Linked DNA regions of Homo sapiens: region 1 is linked to region 2. Evidence: promoter capture Hi-C in human tissues and cell types (Jung and others, 2019). All regions are on one chromosome and are shown on one strand. The core of a region is centred on a gene start or on the middle of the fragment in contact, and the rest is flanking DNA. Distances in the headings are between cores, read along the strand shown.

What was found. Contacts are between HindIII fragments. The study calls those that stand out against the background at their distance.
Region 1: a contact is called between a fragment that was not itself captured here and the fragment with the promoter of DIRAS3 in region 2, in 1 of the 25 tissues and cell types used here (thymus).

The regions. Positions count from the first base shown.
Region 1 is chr1:68,083,115-68,085,866 of GRCh38, forward strand. The region is part of intron 3 of GNG12-AS1 (GNG12, DIRAS3 and WLS antisense RNA 1); the gene reads left to right. Among named protein-coding and RNA genes, the nearest start is that of DIRAS3, 34 kb to the left of the region's middle. The HindIII fragment of the contact is 6,559 bases long and covers 1-2,752 here.
Region 2 is chr1:68,049,167-68,051,964 of GRCh38, forward strand. It overlaps DIRAS3 (DIRAS family GTPase 3), which reads right to left and starts at 1,461. Exons shown (of 2, transcript NM_004675.5): 1 at 1,382-1,461. The region is part of intron 2 of GNG12-AS1 (GNG12, DIRAS3 and WLS antisense RNA 1); the gene reads left to right. It also overlaps the pseudogene ARL5AP3. The HindIII fragment of the contact is 12,521 bases long and covers 1-2,798 here.

The DNA of each region.
Region 1 (2,752 bases), core at 59-2,558, 34 kb after region 2:
AAACAACCAGGTCTCCTGAGAACTCTATTATAAGACAGCATTAGGGGGATGGTGTTAAACCATTAGAAACCACCCAAATGTTCCAATTACCTCCCACCAGGCCTCACCTCCAACATTGGGAATTACAGTACAACATGAGATTTGCGTGGGGACACAGAGCCAAACTATATCAGATATTAACCTTGATCACCTGGCTGAGGTAATGTTTATCAGGTTTCTTCACTATAAAGTTACTCTTCTTTTTCTCTTTCCATATCATACTTACAGATTACTTACTTTAAAACTTTAAGGCTAATTAATAGGATTACAATAGCCAATGTTTACAATGAAGTGTTTTAAATTATTAATAACAAAAAGGTTTTTAGACAAGATGGACAAGATGCTTCCTTTTTCCTGCACTAACAGTGGGAGAGATGTTTTCTTCTGACTCATAAAGCTTGTACAGAGAATCTGATTTCTTAAAGTCTTGAGTTGACATTTACAAGGATGTTGATCTTGTTTTCCTTCATAATTTGGAGATGTAAATATTTCAAACTTTCCTATTGGTTCTGCTATTTGTAAATATACAGCTGTCCTTGGACACATAAGGTGAGAATAATTATAGCATATCACAGTAACAATGTAAGAATCAAGGGGACTGATAAGCAAGGGACTGAGAATGTTGGAGGAAAGGACCTTGTTAACGTGGCAACTCAAGGACAGCTTCATGAAAGTCTTAACATACAAGTGTTATTTGAACAAGTAGAGGAGGCCAACAGTACACCACATGCACTAAGGCAGGAAAGGAAAGAACATGACGTATAGGCAAAGTCTGCCATGTGAGAGCATAGGGTGTGTAGAACTTATGCAACAGGCTAAAGAGTTTGCACTTCATTCTGTAATCCTGAGTGTGGAGGACAATGGCATTTTTGGGCAAGGAGAGTAATATGATCAGATCTGAGCTTTAGAAAAATAACTGGCAACTATCTAAATGAAATTTGAAGGATAAGAGCCTGGAGAGAAACATAGAAGTTATTATTAAAAACTATGAAAGAATATATACAAAAGAGGGGATATTGAAAATAGGAGTAAAAATATGTAGAGAGATTATGGAGGCAGAATAGACAGGCCTTGGGGCCAATTTCATAGCTAACAGTGGCAGAGACTGGCAAGATCCTTACCAAACCTGTATCTTCCTCTTCCTGGGCACACAGCTGGACTACATTTCCCAGCCTCTCTGGCATTAGGCACAGCTATGACTGACTCTCCAGCCAAAATGAACATTATGGGTGAAAGTCATGTATGCCACTTTCAGACCTATCCTTCTACCATAAGACTGGAATGGAGAGAACTTTCAAGACCACTCTGAGAGTCATGCATAGAATATAATAGAACTATGGGGTAGAAGGAGCTGTAGCTCCCAAATTACTTCCTGGAGAATTACTCAGCCTGCAATAGACTTTGAGACAACTGAGAAATAAACTATTTCCCTACTGAGCCTTTATATGCTTGGACTTTTCTGTAATCACAGCATACTGTGGACTACCCTAACCAAATTAAACATTGATACTTTGAAGTGGGTGCTCCTACAACAGAAAACTAAAGCATGTGACCTGGGCTGGTGAGGAGACAAATTATTAGAGACTGGAATGGCTGAGGAGCCCTGTTTTGCTATGCCAAACTATTTGACAAAATGGTTGCCTGCCTAAAGTTCTAGAAAAGTGATTGTAAGTCAGAAAGATAGTGTGTGTTGGCCACTATGGCTGCTTTGAGTAAGATATTACAAGACAAAGGTGTGCTTGGGCAAAAATTGTGTGTGGCAAGCACAGGTGAAAGGAAACAGAGAATATCTAATGTTGGGCTTTGAATAGAAGAGGAAAAAACTGCTTCTAGATCCTGAATAAAAAGAAAAAAGATACAGGAAGCCAGAAAAGTCCATTAGACTCACTTGGTAGTACAGATGAGATGAAGGGTGTTGATGTCTCATGAGCCTGCTAGCTTCAAGTTAGTAAGAGAGGCATGGCGGGTAGTTAGACAGAGAAAGAAAACATATTTGAAGGGTGCATCAGAAAAGAAGTGCTGTTAATGACACAGGAAACAGATTAGCAACAAATGAAACAAAAACCTACTACTGTTTGAGGCAATTTTACTACCAAAGAAACCATAAGCCGGGTCTAGAAAAGTCTGTATTATGGAGAGTTGCTTTTTAAAGAAAATCTCAGGAAGAAAGTGAGTGTACTTGGGTCTACTCTAACACCCATGTTGGAGATGAACAAATATGAAAATGAACAGGGAAGAGCTTCCCAAAGAACAAGACTAGGGGCCTCCCAGAACAGTGAGTGAGAAAGATCATCCCATAGAGCAGATCACAGCCTAACTAAGGACTTCCTCGTTTAGGGTAGAGAGCCTTTACAATGTCTGCCTAGTGGGATTTCTGAATTGCCAAGGTCCAGTGACCACAGTGTGCCTCACATTCTTCCTCTGTTTTCTAATGGGCGTTCATTATGATTATCTTATTCTTCCTCTGTAATCATGTGCATGGTGAGTGGCCCTGGGGGTAATGGGGAATAACTTTCCTTTTTCATTAATAGGTCACCAAACTCGAGAAGCAAAATCAGCACCTGATGGCAATTGCTGCCCATCACTCAGAGATCCTGGACTTGAGGCTGAATGCTGTGATGGGATAGGATTTGAGGGAAGGGCACAAGTGTGTTCTTTGTGTGAGAAGCAGAGTGAAATTGCTTTTTGACAACCAGTAGGGCAGTCTGTGTGA
Region 2 (2,798 bases), core at 211-2,710:
AGTGGCAAAATTTAAGTAGATGATTTTATATTCTTGATTAAAGGGGGCCAGGGAGGTTAATACAGTAAATATTTGAAATTGATATAAAATAAATACATACATATATCTAAACCATTCATTTTTGCAGCTTTCAGGTAAAATCTAGCACTTTATTCCAGTCTATGAGATGTGGTTAGTTGATATCATCTAATATTAAGTAATGACATCAGCTATCCAAATCCTGGGCACAATTCCTTTAGCAATGATGACCTTTAATAGAATTTAGCTTAAAAAACTAGGAGATTTCTGCTACAGTGATGCAATCTTTCACATCTTATTTATTAACAAAAATCAACAATCCAGCTTTCCTTAGGTCTTCACGCACTAAGAGTTCTCTAGTCACAGAAATCCTAGCCTTGTCTGCACTCTCCACAACTATTATAAACTCCATGTTAGTATCAAGAGTTCCAGTAAAGACCAAATATCTCTTGGCCACCAACATCCCACATTAGGAAATGTGCATTACTAATTATTCTGTTTTACATTACTTCCTGCTCTAGGGGATGTATGTACAAATTCATTCATAGAAAATTGGTAAAGCAGCCGGGCGCATTGGCTCATGCCTGTAATTCCAGCACTTTGGGAAGTCAAGGTGGGAGGATCGCTTAAGCACAGGAGTTCAAGACTAGCCTGGGTAACATAGGGAGACCGCCGTCTCTATCAAAAAGAAAATAAAAGAAAAAAAATTGGTAAAGGACACACGTGATAACTGAAGTTTCCAGATGTGAAGAGAATTCTCATTCTCAGGCAGTGGACCCCCCCCCCCACTCCCCTCCACACTCCTTCCACCTTCCCAGGCCACCTGGCCTCAGGCTGAGGGGGAGGTGAAAGTTTCCAGGAACCAGAGGGCGTCCAAACCCAGCGGCCGTGCGGAGCTCAAGGTCCCGCCGCTGCTGTTGCGGCACCAGCCTGGCTCATGGACATCACCACGCACCTGCAAGGTCAGGTTTCTCTCTGGTGGCTGTGGCGGCTGCTACCCTCCTCGCCCATTTCAATCTTACTTTCACACTACATGACTCCACTATTACTTCCTGAACACTAGCTACCTACGCAGCTGTAATAGTGGACACTGTGTCAACCTTTAAGCTCGCACACTTATCAAACCTCGTTCTTCTATATTAAAAAGTGCTAGCTTCCCAACGGGACTATCCAAAGTGCAGTTGCAGGACCTGCCAGGAGCCCGCAGGGCTGCGGGTGGTTCTTGCGTAATCGCGCCAAGAAAGACCTGGTTCCAGTTTCAGGGACAACTCGCCCATAAACTTCTACTGCGCAACAGCATCTGCTGCTTTGTCTGACACTTGTTGTTTTCAAGTACCCCTAAAAAAGCGAAAGAAAGACTTACCTTTCTCGGAGGCACGAACCAAGCAGCCTAGAAGACAAATGCGCTGCTCGGAGAGACTGCCGCGGCAACCAACTGGACACCCCAAGAGCTCACTCCTCCGCGGTTTTATATTCCGACTTGCGCACAGGAGCGGGGTGCGGGGGCGCAGGGAGTGTGGGTAACAGGCATAGATTCCGCTTGCGCAATACGTGGTAAGAAACCAGCTGTGAGGGGCTGGCCCAACGCAGAGCGGCGCGAGGTCCGCTTGGCATCTACAACAATCGAGGGGCTAGTCCAGAAGTTCAAGGCGGGGTTACAGGTTGGGGAGGAACTGTTAAACTGTGGACTTTTTCTCACCTGTTGGAATAAGCTTCAGGCAAAACTTTGCCAACAAAAACCGGTCCAACTGATTTTAGACGAAAGTCCAAAAGCAGTTTAATGCAGGACAGATAATCTTTTCCACAAATGATACTGAAAAGACAGGACATCTATAGATTCCCCCCCGCCAAAAATAACCCTTACATAAAAATTAAGTGGCTAGATATAACTGTGACGAGTAAAATTACAAAACGGTTTTAAAAAACAACAAACTATTGTCTAAGGCTAGGCAAAAGGTTCTTAAATTGACATTAGTGGCAAGACCGGTAAAAAGAAATGTTGATGAATTAGACTCCATAAATTTAAAACTTTTGCTTTGTGAAAGACCCTGTAACGATACTGAAAAGGTTTACCTAGGAGAAAATATTTACAAGCCATATATCTGGCATACAACCAGTATCTAGAATATGTAAATAACTCAAAAATCAATTATTTTTAAAAATCCAATTAGAAAATAGTCAGAAGACATAAACAGACACTTCACTGAAGATATGCAGATGGCAAATAACCATATGAAAACCTTTAATGTCATTAGCCATTAGAGAAATGGGAATACGAGGCTTTCGTTGTTCTTCGCCTCCCACTAGGGCGGGTTGAGGGTCTGGCTCCAGTAGCCCCGGGTGCCTCTCACTCCTTGGGCGCAATGCTACTATCCTGGCAGAACCCTCGCCGAACCCTCGCAGGACGCCCCATCGGGTCCGCCAGCGGCTAGGAAGCCCGATTGTGTCGTTCCTTTTTCCCTCTGCGCCTCCCACCGCCAGTCCCTTTTCCAAATGCGCCTGCGTCTGCCCTCCACATCTCCGAGCTCCGTCTGGCTTCTTTCTCCCTTGCCTGTGAGCGCCTGGCGGCGGATGCATTGAAAGCTGCGCACCACCGCCTACCGAGCGTTTTGGGGAGTGTGTGGAAGTTGTTGGCAGCAGGTTTTGACAGCAGTACCCTATGGGCCTAGTCGTTGACGGTAGCACCTGGTTTTGTGTGCCCCAGCCAGCTGAGGCCAGGGTGTGTGGTGTGGGCCACTGGTACTGCTCTTCTGCCACTATAATCCCTCCCCCTACCAGGT